4 separate regions of the Homo sapiens genome follow, and all the other regions are linked to region 1. Evidence: promoter capture Hi-C in human tissues and cell types (Jung and others, 2019). All regions are on one chromosome and are shown on one strand. Each heading gives the region's core, a stretch centred on a gene start or on the middle of the fragment in contact. The rest is flanking DNA. Distances are from core to core; before and after follow the strand shown.

Region 1 (3,342 bases), core at 607-3,106:
CTCTATTTTACATCTGGCATATAACTGTTTTATAAAGCACAGCTCCGCTGGGTGCGGTGGCTCATGCTTGTAATCCCAGCACTTTGGGATGCCAAGGCAGGCAGATCACAAGGTCAGGAGTTCGAGACCAGCCTGACCAACACAGTGAAACCCTGTATTTACTAAAAATACAAAAATTAGCTGGACGTGGTGGCGGGTGCCTATAATCCCAGCTACTAGGGAGGCTGAGGCAGGAGAATTGCTTGAACCCGGGAGGCAGAGGTTGTAGTGACCCGAGATCCTGCCGCTGGATTCCAGCCTGGGCAAAAGAGCTAGACTCCGTCTCAAAAAATAAAATAAAATAAAATAAATAAAGCATAGCTCCTGGAGGAGGGCAAGAATGGAATTAGCACATTATCTTGGGGTTCAGGGAGATAACACGATTCTGTCAAAGTGACACAGTAAAGCAAAGGCCATTCCCTAGGTTTTCTTGAGTCGGAATAAACTCCTGGACTTAGTGACCGTTCCCCCACTTTCCCCATCCCTAGCAGGGCTACAGAGCTCACAAGCCACTCAAATAGGTGTTACTCCTGGGTCAAACCTTTTCATTGTGGGCCAGGACTGCTTTTGTGGCACTGAGAGAGGTCAGCTCCACTTCTGTGGACATCACAACTGAGATGCACCAAGCCAATTCTGTTCAACCACAATGTGGGCTGGCCCTACAGGAAAAGCTGTTCTAAAGTGACAGCTGGAGTCTTGGGCCCTTTGATAGGGAAGTCAAGGCTGTCTGTGGCAGTGGCTGATTTAGTTTCTCGCTGAGGCTTTTATCTTGCATCTTCTTGGGGATGACAGGTCCCAGGGCAGGCAGTGCTGTCACTTGCCATTGCTGTCATTCCTGGAGCAGGATGAAAGGTGGGCAGGGAAAAGGTCCTGACTCTTCTTATCATTCCTTCTAGAGGAAAATACGCTTATGAGGGGAAGCATGGTCAGGGAGAGGGGCTCAACCTCTGAACGCTCCAGAGAAAAGAGCAGGAATGGTGTGGGTTAGAGTCCCGGCTCCAAGGTGCATTAGCTGAGCTTGTCATCAGCTGGGAGTGTGCAGTGGCATCTCTCTAGGAGAGCTAAGCCTCGAGTTTTGGGTTGAGACACAGCCAGGTTCAAATTCCATCAAATCCCATTCTCACCACGTGCAGACTGTGTGGCCTTGGGCAAGTTCCATGCCCTCCCTGAGCCTCAGATTCCTCATCTTGTCAGACGGGCTCATAACAGCACTTAACACCAAGAACTGAAGAGTGTGAAAATGCACGTGAAGCACTTGGCACATAGTAAATGCTCATTAAGGTGAGATGCCACTGTCTTTTTCCCATGGCCAATTCCCCATGACTCAGTTTCCACTTCTGTAAGGCAAGAGCCTCAAAAGAACCGCTTCGAGGGCTGCTGCTAGGACAGATCGAGAGGACGGGCGCGAAGACCCCAGCCCAAGACATAACACGCCCTAACGAGCGGGCTGAGGGTCGGAGCCTCAGTCTCCCTATCTGCAAAATGGGCACCTGGTCTCCCCCACCACGGCCCAGGAACCCCCGAACGGCGGTGCAGGCGACTGCTCTTCTCCCTTTAGGCCCCCTCGACCCTCTCAGCGCCCTCGGCCCGTCCAGCCCTGTAGATCCCTCAGCCCCAGCCCCTCAGGGGCGCGCCCAGCCCGGGCCTCCGGCGCCCCCAGCCATTCCCCGGTCCCGTTACCTATGGTGGAGATAAAAGTGGAGTTGAAGGCGTCCTCGGAGAAGCGGAACAGGACACAGGTCTTCCCCACCCCCGAGTCCCCGATCAGCAGCAGCTTGAACAGGTAATCGTAGGTCTTCGCCATATTACACTCTCTCCCCGACGGGAAGTGCGGCCAGCGCCTCTCCACTGGCCACCAGCACCGTCCATCAGCACCGAGCCCGCCCCTTATTGGCTCCAGGCCCGCTGCGCGTCACCGCGGCCGACGCCCGCCCCTGCGTCCCGCCAGTCGCGGGGAGACCTTGGGAGGGGGCGAGCGGAGCGCGGAGCCGGAAGCAGCCCGAGCGCACCTCCCATTGGCCGGCACTAGGGAGAGCACGGGCTCTGATTGACCAGCAGTGAAGAGTCGCGGGGCTTCAAATGGGGACGAGGCGGGGGCGTGGCATTATGTGGCCCCCGCCTTCCACCCCCGACTCGGGCGGCCCGGCCCCGCCCCACTGTAGGAGAGGGAAGGCAGGGAGCGGCGCCAACCGCTCGCGCGCCGGCAGCCTGGCGGGGCGTGGCTTGGGGTGCGTGCGCACGCGCGCCCGGAGTTCCGTTAGGCGACAGCAGAGGGCGCACGCCAGTAGTTGGGGCGGGTGTCTCTGGGTCCCGCCCTCACAGCTCGCGCAGGCGCAGTAGGCACCGAGGCGAGCGCGGGAAAGCAAGGTAGCGCTCTCAGCCTTGTCTGCGGCCTGCGAGTCGGGGCAGTGGGGGCCTAGGGAGGAAGGAGAGAGGAGGAGCTGTATACTCGAAAAGTGACCCAAGCCGGACGCGGTGGTTCACGCCTTTAATTCCCACACTTTGGGAAGCCGAGGCGCGTGGATCACGAGGTCAGGAGTTCAAGACCAGCCTGGCCAAGATGGTGAAACCCCGTTTCTACTAAAAATACAAAAATTAGCCGGGCGTGGTGGCGGGCGCCTGTAATCCCAGCCACTCGGGAGGCTGAGGCAGAGAATTGCTTGAATCTGGGAGGCGGAGCTTGCAGTGAGCCGAGATCGCGCCATTGCACTGCAGCGTGGGCGACAGAGAGAGACTCCGTCTCAAAAAAAATAAATAAAAGTGACCCAAGACGAGCTCCGAGGTCTGCGGCCTAGCGATCTGCTTAGAGATACCCAAGGCCTCCGCCATCTGAGCGGCTTCACCGCCACAAGCTGTGCCCGGAAGCGCGCGCCGGCCTCCTCAGGGCCCGCCCTCGGCCACCTTAGGGGTTGTCCGGGCCAGCCCGGGGATGGTGGGGGGGGAGGGGTTAGAGCAGTGAGGATGCTGGGTCCTATCTAGGGGCCAGGGCTCTCAACGTTGAAAAAACTGGCCGGGGCGTTGGCTCCCGTCTGTGATCCCAGTGCTTTGGGAAGCCAGGAGGTTGAGGGTGCAGTAAGCCGTGATCGCCCCACTGCAATTCGGCCTGGGCGACAGAGCAAGACCCTATCAAAAGAAAAAAAGGCTGGGCGCGGTGGCTCAGGCCTGTAATCCCGCACTTTGGGAGGCCGAGGCGGGCGGATCAGGAGGTCAGGAGATCGAGACCATCCTGGCTAACGCGGTGAAACCCCGTCTCTACTAAAAACACAAAAAATTACCCGGGAGTAGTGGCGGGCGCCTGTAGTC
Region 2 (3,342 bases), core at 627-3,126, 500 kb after region 1:
GGAGTCTCCCCAAGATTTCTCATCCAACCAGGAATATCTCAGGGGCCAAATCACACAGCCTGGCTTATGGAAAGTCCCCTAGTGAGTATTGGAGGGAGGGGAGTCACTCATGGGAAAACAGAAGCTGGTGCTTCTCTGCAGGGGCCCTTCCACCCCTACCCAGAGTGGGGCAGTGGGAAAGTGCACCAGACCACAGAGTGACCAGCCTCAGTCACCACCCATCAATTCCTAAGCCTAAGTCTTCACATCTGACAAATGTGTCTCCTAAAGCATCACAAAGCATTGCCAGCATTCTATCAGACACAGGGAGAGAGAGCAGAGAATAAGTTCCAAATTAAAGATGTGAGTAATGGTCCCATCAATATAAAAAACGTACGAGTGTATGTGTATGTGTCTGTATGTACACATGTGTATGCACACTGAAAAAAATCCAGAAGAATGCACATACCACGATGGAATTGGAGAAATTACAATTGGAGTAGAAACCTTTTAACTTTCTACACGTCTCTGTTGCTTCGTTTTTCAAGCTGGGATGCTATAAATGTAATAATTAAAACAATTTTTTTTTTCCTCTGAAGTCCTTGTCCTTTATTGGGCAAGGGGTGAGGGAAGCAGACAGACCGGTTGGACACAGTAGATGGGTGTGTGAGGACAAAATGCTACCAGAAAGCCAGCCAATCCACACTCCCCTGAAATGGATGCTAACGCCCTTCAAACCCTGGGCATTGGTTTCATACACAGCCTCTTCCAGGGATAAAAGGGGTTCTTGTACAGCTTCTTGTTACCCTCAACCATGGAGGCAAGTTCTGAGTTCTGGTTTTCCTAGGACACTAACTCTAGTCACAAAGATCTCTGGAGTGATCACACATGGTGGAGTGGCAGGGTGAATATTTCAAAAGGATAAGTAGAACAGGAGTCTTGCCCAAGCCCTGTCATGTCAGTGTCTGTGTGTGGCCTCCCAGCCCAACCAGAAATTGACAGAGAGGCATGTATATGGTGAAAAGATATATATATATATATTCAGAATTAGGCAGCTGCACTCAGTTTAGATAATCCCAATTTTGTTGGCAACATCCAAAGCATCGTAATCAGGAGTCAGTCGAACATATACCTTCTTCTCTCCATCAGGCCGAATCAGGGTGTTGACCTTGGCCACATCAATGTCATAGAGCTTCTTCACAGCCTGTTTGATCTGGTGCTTGTTGGCTTTAACATCCACAATGAACACAAGTGTGTTGTTGTCTTCTATCTTCTTCATGGCAGACTCAGTGGTCAGCGGAAACTTGATGATAGCATAGTGGTCAAGCTTGTTTCTCCTGGGAGCGCTCTTCCGAGGATATTTGGGCTGTCTCCGGAGTCGCAGTGTCTTCGGCCGCCGGAAGGTGGGTGACGTGTGGATCTTCTTTTTGTGGCTGTGGACACCTTTCAACACTGCCTTCTTGGCCTTTAAAGCCTTCGCTTTGGCTTCGGCTTTAGGAGGGGCAGGAGCTTCCTTCTTCACTTTCGGCACCATCTTGTGAAAAGGGTCCAAAACAAATTTTTTTAAATAAATAAGGATTTGGTACAGTGGGGACACAGTTGATCCACAACATAGGTGAGTAGTTCTGTTTCGTTTTGTTTTGTTTTGCTTTGCTTTGTTTTTTGAGACAGAGTCTCACTTTGTCACCCAGGCTGGAGGGCAATGGTGCCAATCTCGGCTCACTGAAACCTCCGCCCCACCAGGTTCAAGCGATTATCCTACCTCAGCCTCCCGAGCAGCTGAGATTACAGGCATGAGCCACCACACCCAGCTAATTTTTGTATTTTTAGTAGAGACAGGGTTTCACCATATTGGCCAGGCTGGTCTCCAACTCCTGACCTCAAGTGATCCAACCACCTCGGCCTCCCAAAGTGCTGGGATTACAGGCGTGAGCCACTGCGCCCAGCCAATAGGTGAGTTGTTCTTACTGTGTCACCATGAAGACCCAGCTCCCAGGAATCGGCCTGCAGTCTCCCTAGAACAAGCACACGGGCTGCCCACTAGCTGGAGTTTCACCTTCCCTGTCCTTGAATGCTCAGGAAGGAACACATTCTGGCTTCAGCACAACTGAGTTCAAGTCCAGGCTCTGCCACTCACTAGCTGTGTAACCCTCTGAGTCTCATAGCCTCCTCGATAAAATGCAAAGGTCAAGTTCTAACTTTTAGGTAATTAGTTTCTCAACAACAAACTTCACATGAACACTTAAATGGTAGCAGGCATGGTGCTAGGACCTGGGACACAGGTTGAACAAGACAGACGTGGTCTCTGCTGATAACCTACCAGTCACATTAGTCCCAATTAGCCCCCGGAAAAGATCTCTTGATGCATGGGTTACATCCTGTTCCTGAGTAAAGAATCTTGTGAGTTCCTCAAATCTTATCTTTAATTACTCAGATCTTATGAGTTCTTCCAACTGTTGATGTTCTGATTTTCCACTGATATGGAAAAGCACAATCCTTTGTTTCTAAACCATGAAGTTTTGCTTTATATTTATAAATCATAAAGTTTTTCTTTTCTTTTCTTTTTTTTTTTGAGACAGGGTCTTTGTCACCCAGGCTGGAGTGCAGTGGCGCAGTCTCATCTTACTGCAACCTCCATCTCCTAGGTTCAAGCAACCTTCCTGCCTCAGCCTCTCGAGTTGTTGGGATTGCAGGCATGTGCCACCATGCCCAGCTAATTTTTGTATTTTTAGTAGAGCAGAGTTTCACCATATTGGCTAGGCTGGTCTCGAACTACTGGCCTCAGGAGCGATGAGCTTCTCCTCAAGGGATCTGCCCGTCTCAACCTCCCAAAGTGCTGGGATTACAGGCATAAGCCACTGTGCCCTCTCTTATAAAGTTTCACTGATGGTTTTACATACAAAATGTTTTAGCCTGTATGTTATAACCTGTATCTAATCATTATGACCTCTGTATTATACCCTCCAATAAAAACAGACAATTCTGATATAAGAAGTTCCCTTCTCTTCTCCTAAACTTTCTTATAAAAACATTCCAAATTGTAAAAGATTCTGGCACACATCCAAATGTGTTGGTGCATCTTTCTGGGTTGATCCTCACCTTTGGCTTCAAATAAACCCTTATCAAAGTATTTCTGCCTCGGCAGCTTTAATTTCACTCCACAAAATGATGTAGTCATCAGTGTTTCAGAGTGGCCTCCCTGGTCACCCTGGACCTTCCTGAGCAGGTTTCAACCTTCATGCACGGAATCCATCGTGTTCCCCCAACTGGGATGCCCCTGCTGGATGCAACAGATAAGTTTCTCCTGAAATCAACGAACTTCCTGTTTTAGGCAAAGTTCTGCCTTATTGAAGCTGCTTTCCC
Region 3 (3,342 bases), core at 287-2,786, 300 kb after region 1:
TTTGGCTACTGTGAACAGTGCTGCTATGCACATTTGATGTCCAAGGATTTGTTTGAATCCTTTTCCATTCTTTTGGGTGTATACCTAGGAGTGAAATTGCTGAGTCCTTTGATAATTTCTATGTTAACTTTTTGATAAACTGTCAAACCATTTTGTGTGTTTTTAAAATGCAGATCTGATTCTCCCGTAGATATCTTTCCGTAACTTGGTTTTTCACTCAGCGTCTTAGAGTGAACTCTGTGTGAGTTTATGCAGACCAAAGTTTCTCAGTCTTGGCAATGTCGACATTTTTGTGTTGACAAAATGGCTGGAGTGCCGTGGCTACTCACAGGGGCAATCATAATGCATCGTTATATATAGTAGTATATAGTCCCATTTATATGAAATGTCTAGAATAGGTAAGTCCATAGAGCCAGAGCCAGAAAACAAATTGGTGGTTTTGAAGGACTGGGTGGGGTAGGGGAGTGGCTGCTAATGGGTATTAGGTGATGAAAACATTTTGGAACTAGACAGAGGCGGCGGCCACACAACATTGTGAATGCATTCAATCCCAGGGAATTGTATACTTTAAAGTGGTTGATTATTTTATGTGAATTTCACCTCAAAAGCAGAACGAAGCGAAAGCAACAATAATGCACAACAGAACTCTGATTTTATGGGTTTGCATTGTTTTCACATCCTACATGCTCATGAAGATCTGAAGGGATACCCATTAAATTCACCGTCACGATTGCCTGGCTGGCCATTGCATGGTTTGCTGCTTTGTATGTAGCATTTCAATTACATAATAAGAAGAAACAGGCCAGGCATGGTGGCTCACAGCTGTAATCCCAGCACTTTGAGAGGTCAAGGTGGGAGGATCCCTTGAGCCAAGGAGCTCAAGACCAGCCTGGGCAACAAAGCGAGACCCCATCTCTACAGAAAAATTAAAACTTAGCCCAGGTGTGGTGGCAAGCACCTTTACTCCCAGCTGCTCAGGAGGCTGAGGCAGGAGAATCATTTGAGCCTGGGAGGTTGAGGCTGCAGTGAGCCATAATCACACCACTGCACTCCAGCCTGGGCAACAGAGCTAGACCCTGTCTCAAAAAATAAAAATAAAAACAAATACGTGTGTGTGTGTTGGTTTTAAAAAATTATTTTAAAGGACATTTAGTTGGGCAAATGACCCAGTTGGAGAAGAATGAAGGTGACGGGGCATATCAAGGCAGCCTCTGCAGTCCCTGGGGGCAATGGCAGGGCTGCCCTCCTGTCAATTTCAACAGTCATGGGCCCAAACCCCAAATCTGTAGAGCACTAGACTCTGCTCAAGCTCTTGACAAGCTCAGGGAATTGACTCACCCCTGGCAGGCGGGGGGAATGGGAAAGTGAGGATACAGATTCCCTGAGGTTGCCTCCTCTCTGGCAGGGTCCCTGGGGTCCCAGCATCCCTGTAGCGGAGACAGAGACAGTAGGACCACAGCGAGGGAAGCCGGTGGGCAGGGAGTCAGGGAGGGATAAATAATCGCATTTGGGCTCAGTCAAGCCCCCGGCTCAGCTGGTGTGGCTGCTTGGTGCAGCCCACACCTGGTCAGCTCCCACCTGTGGAGAAACTCCAAACTAGAGCCTCCTACTGGGATGAAGCAGAAGCAGATGCCTGGAGTCCCAGGTGAGTCACCTCCCCTCTCAGCCACCTGACCAGGAGAGACCTGGGGAACCAGCACCTGCCAGGGACTCCAAGAAACCACCTGTTTATATTACTCCTTTAGCAATGTGAGTCTACAGGGCAGTGGGTGACAGGCAGAGGCCACTCACCACGTCTTAGTCAGTGTGCTGTTTGCTTAGCAGGACTTACCTTCTTCTATTTTTTTTTTTTTTTTTTTGAGACGGAATCTCGCTCTGTAGCCCAGGCTGGAGTGCAGTGGCGCAATCTCGGCTCACTGCAACCTCCGCCTGCCAGGTTCAAGCGATTCTTCTCCCTCAGCCTCCTGAGTAGCTGGGACTACAGGTGCGTGCCACCATGCCTGGCTAATTTTTTGTATTTTTAGTAGAGACAGGGGTTTCACCATGCTGGACAGGCTGGTCTTGAACTCCTGATCTCGTGATCCACCCGCCTCGGCTTCCCAAAGTACTGGGATTACAGGCATGAGCCATCGTGCCCAGCCAGGACTTGCCTTCTTTAGAGCTCCTGCTGCCTCATGAGGTAGGTCCCTTGGATGGGGGAGGTAACAGGTGCAGAGAGAAGACAGCCAATGCTCAATGTGACCCAAGGTGATGGTTTGATTTTAACCTCTCTTCTCGGTCTGTCCAGGCAAGAAGTCTACGGAAAAAGGATTGGGAAGAGGCGGAGAAAAGAGAGAAAGAGGATTCAGGGTTCAGAAGCTCCAGCCACCACCCCAGGGTGTAAAGAATCAGGGTGGGCCGGGTGCAGTGGCTCATGCCTGCAATCCCAGCACTTTGGGAGGCCAAGGTGGGAGGATCACTTGAGTCCAAGAGTTTGAGGCCAGCCTGGGCAGCATAGTGAGACCCTGTCTGTACAAAAAAATACAAAAATTGGCCAGGAATGGCAGGCACCTGTAGCTACTCCAGAGATTGAGGTGGGAGGATTGCTTGAGCCCAGGAAGTTAAGGCTGCAGTGAGCTGTGATTGTGCCTCTGCACTCCAGCCTGGGTGACAGAGGGATACCCTGTCTCTCTCTCTCTCTCTCTCTCTCTCTCTCTCTCTCTCTCTCTCTCTCTCTCTCACACACACACACACACACACACACACACACACACAAGGGAGGCGTCAATGGGAGCAGGTGGTGAGGGAATGGTTAGGAGCTGGGGATGAGAAGATGGAGAGAAAAGAGAGGGAAGTGGTGGCTTAAGTGGAAGAGAGGGGAGGCCAGACAGCTTCACTAAGAAGAGAGAGCCAGGATGGGTGAGAGTTAAGGCCAGATGGGGTCTCAGAGACAAGACAGGCCTGGCCCATGGAGTGATGCTGTCACCCAGGAGACACGTGACAACGTATAAGGACATTTCTGATTGTCGTGACTGGGGAGTGCTGCTGGTATCTATCTGGTGGGTGGAGACCAAGAATGCTGCTCAGTCTCCTGCAGTGCACAGGACACCCCTCTGAGAGAGAATGATTCGCCCCTAGCGTCCCTAATGCTGAAGGCAGGAAACCCTGCTCTAGGGATGTCTGTGGCAGGACTTGTCCACAGCCACGCTTAGCCCTAGAGTCTCTGAGTGGAGAACTGGCCCCACCGGGTGTTCCTGTCAGTGCTAGACAGTGGGCTTGCTTGCTCTCTCTCTTTCTTCTCACCTTTTTCTTCTCTTTCCCCTCTGTCCTCTCTTTCTCCCTACCTCTCTTTCCTCTCTCTGT
Region 4 (3,342 bases), core at 597-3,096, 260 kb before region 1:
TCAGGAGAAAAAGTATGACCAAGTATGGGCTGTGTGGATTTAGAGCAGATTTTCTGTGAACTGTTGAGCAGATACAGATGCGTAAAGAGATCATTTCTGTAAGCCACACATCAAAGACATTTACCATCAGGAGGAAAAACAAAACAACAAAGGGACTCCCTTCCATCTGCAAGAGGCCACCTGTGCCTTACACAGAGGCAGTGGCTCTTCAGGGATCCTTGTTGGCTTCCTGATGGAACGGCAGTGGGCCTCTTCACTCTGCCTAAAAGATGGGAGCAGAAGCACACACACACACACACACACACACACATATATGCATAATCACAATGCATGCACACAGCTGGCACACATGCATGTGCACATTCCCACGTGCGGCCATGTATTTTTATGCATGTATGTGCACGTACACGTGTATGCTCTTGCATGCACATGTGTACCCTGTGTACACACATCCTCCACGCCTGCAGACACATGCATGCATGCACCTGTTTGCACATGAACACACATGCATACAGGTGAGCATGCATTCACATACATACTGCATCACATGAGTATTCTCGCATGTGCCTGCATGTACGCATATGCAGGCACACACGCACTCTCCCATGCACCCCTCCGTGCACACTCTCCATGCTTATATGCATCTGTGGACATGTGTGCATATTCTCTTGTCAGTACACACATGCATGCATAGAGATGAGCAGCATGCACTCACATACTGCATTGTGCATGCCTGCACACACACATGCTCTCATAGATAACAGCTGGGCATGCACACCCTCCATGCTTATATATGTGCATGCATTCATTGAGACATGCACATATTCACATGTGAACATATACATGAATACAGGTGAGCATTACACAGATATTGCATAATGCATGCATGCAAACGTGCACACACATATGCGTGCGTGTGTGCTCATACACACCCGGGCATGCACACTCTGTGCTTACATACGTGTACACACATTTACACACATGTGCACGTATTCTCATATGGGTGCACACACTTGCCGAGCAGTGCCGTATTTGCTGGGCCCTGAGGAGGAGCCATCCCACTCAACAGCTCACAGGTGCAAAGCTTCATTTTCAGTGTTTCATGGAAACCGCCACCCCCGCCTCCCCACGTACCTAAACCCGGCGCTGGGTCTGCTTTTGAACTTTCCCTCAGTTATCACCTCCCATCGTGTCTCCCTCTGCAAGCCTACCCACCCCACCTTGGCTTCTGCTGTTAGTGTACTGTGGGCTTCGAAAGCAGAAAAGAATGCTTGTTAAAAGTAGAACGTTTGATAACGGGAGTTTGGGTGACTTCCTTGGGCCTGGCTTCAGGGTTCAGGCTTTTTAGGGAGCTGTTGCACAATTTGAGACCCAGGGGGTCCTGGGCTCCTTTACTCGTGGCACAGGCCACTGCATCTTTGTTCTGCTGTGGTTGATGGTTGCTGTGCCACTCGGTGCTCTGCAGAAATATATTAACATTGATGGGCCCTTAGGAAGTGCTTGAACAGTTCTTATCTCACTAGGTCCCAGCAAGACCCGTGAGGGAGACAGGCCAGGCCATGCCCATTTCCTGGAAGAGGAAAGGCGGGGAGGGAGGTCATGGGGGCTCCCCAAGGTCACACAGCAAGGTGGCAGCAGGGCCAGGTCTACACCCAGTGACCTGCCTCCTGCCCCAAGACAGGAGTAACGAGAACCAAGCCATGAGCTTCAGAACATTCTCTAAAACAGCCAATGCACGCGCAGCATTTTAAGTCCGGAGCAACTGCAGATCTGTGTGGAGGCCTAAATATTTCTCATTTGATTCTTTTACCCAGAAGCAATGGCTGAACAGAAAAATTCTGCATTGTACTCGCTGCTGGGTGGTAGGTACAGACCGTGTGGTGGTTGCCGTTTGAGCTTGCAGCATTATTTGTGCTGTGATTCCGTACTAACCTCTAACAGTCCAAACACTGAGTTGACCCAGTGGTTGACCTTTGGTGAGTCACATGTTGGGGAGAAGTGTTTGGCTCTTTGGGGAATTGCAAAGGAAGATGCTTGCCCTACCCTTGCTCTCTGGTCAAGGGAATCAGAGCCGGGCTCTGTACAATTCCCTTCCCGGTTCCTGGCCACACGGCACAGACCCACGTGCAGCCCAGGAGGCCTCTGGTTATGGGCAAGAGCGGTCAGCAGATGAGTGTCGGGTGAAGTCGTGCTCAGAAAGTTCGCCAGGAAGACACAAGGCAGATCTCTTGTTTTCTTGGCTTCTTTAAGACAGAAGATAGTGAAGCTAATCTGTGAATTTTTTTTTTTTTTTTTAAGCATAAAGTCCAACGTTTTCAAACTGCTGGACTTTATGTTTTCTTAAAACAAACAAACAAACCAAAAAAAGCCTTTCTGCCTTTCTTGCTACCCCAGGCTTTTTCTGCTCAGGGAGACCACACGGCCAGCACACAGTGACGGCCGCCTTCCCCTGGCCACCCCAGGGCTTCCCAGATGCTGGGGCTTTGCGCGAGATGCGTGGGTCCCAGCGTGGCTGAGTGAGGAGGAAGGTGAAATGCGACCCCCTGTGAGCCTGGCGGTCGAGCCTTGAGCTGGTGGAGATAGACAGACTGACAAAAAGTCTGAAGGACCCATAGGCTGTCCAGTGGGCAGTCTTAAACATGCACACAGCGTTGACACCTGCACTCATGGAAATCACAATGAAGGAACAAGCTTTTCTGTCATCTCTCCGCCTGGCACATGGAACATGTCTGATGTCCCATGCTCCCATCCAGGGTTTGTCCATCCCAGGGCACCCAGAGGTTTCTAGAACCCTGCTAGGCCTCTGTGCCAGGAAATGGCTGATGTGTGAGGCCAGGACAGGAGAACTGAGGCCGCTTCCTTCTGTCCTCTGGGCAGCCAATTCTGCTAGAATCCAGGGGACTGCTTGATCAGGCTGGTTTCTGGACATTGGAGGAAAGGGAGGCCCCGGGTGGGTCACTTAACCTCCCTGAGCCTCAGTTTTCCTGCCTGACCATGGGACCCACTCAGGCCTAGCAGGTGGGTGTGTGGGTGAAGCGCCTTGCACGGTGACGTGCTGTATGTGGTCTGTAGCCCCCATCCCCACCCTGCGGCACAGGGACCGGGACGCAGGCTTCTGCCATATGGGCACCTTTTCCAGGAAAGACAGGCTGGGCAGCTGAGGTGGCTGCACACATTCTGGGAGTCATTAATTGGGCCCTTTTCTCCCTGTGAGGTCACAGTTTAGTGGAAATCTTTTCCGTTAAAAAAAGCGTGCAGGGAGTTGAACTTCAAAGAGGGCTCCAGCGTCCTCTGTGGGTCATCGCTCATACAGGACCAAATGTGAGTTTGGGTCTGAGTCAC

What was found. The method cuts DNA at HindIII sites, captures the fragments that hold promoters and counts their contacts. A contact is called where the count stands out against the background at its distance.
Region 2: a fragment that was not itself captured here is called in contact with the fragment with the promoter of RAB8A in region 1 in 2 of the 25 tissues and cell types used here (dorsolateral prefrontal cortex and lymphoblastoid cells).
Region 3: the fragment with the promoter of OR10H1 here is called in contact with the fragment with the promoter of RAB8A in region 1 in 1 of the 25 tissues and cell types used here (liver).
Region 4: a fragment that was not itself captured here is called in contact with the fragment with the promoter of RAB8A in region 1 in 1 of the 25 tissues and cell types used here (spleen).

Annotation. Positions count from the first base shown.
Region 1 is chr19:16,110,403-16,113,744 of GRCh38, reverse strand. It overlaps RAB8A (RAB8A, member RAS oncogene family), which reads right to left and starts at 1,856. Exons shown (of 8, transcript NM_005370.5): 1 at 1,720-1,856. The coding sequence starts at 1,843. RefSeq lists a silencer at 1,814-2,473. The HindIII fragment of the contact is 16,619 bases long and covers 1-3,342 here.
Region 2 is chr19:15,609,827-15,613,168 of GRCh38, reverse strand. It overlaps the pseudogene RPL23AP2. Among named protein-coding and RNA genes, the nearest start is that of CYP4F8, 3.7 kb to the left of the region's middle. The HindIII fragment of the contact is 7,491 bases long and covers 1-3,342 here.
Region 3 is chr19:15,813,858-15,817,199 of GRCh38, reverse strand. It overlaps OR10H1 (olfactory receptor family 10 subfamily H member 1), which reads left to right and starts at 1,536. Exons shown (of 4, transcript NM_013940.4): 1 at 1,536-1,645. The HindIII fragment of the contact is 22,557 bases long and covers 1-3,342 here.
Region 4 is chr19:16,372,435-16,375,776 of GRCh38, reverse strand. All of the region lies in intron 22 of EPS15L1 (epidermal growth factor receptor pathway substrate 15 like 1), which reads left to right. Among named protein-coding and RNA genes, the nearest start is that of KLF2, 49 kb to the right of the region's middle. RefSeq lists an enhancer at 1-33. The HindIII fragment of the contact is 3,944 bases long and covers 1-3,342 here.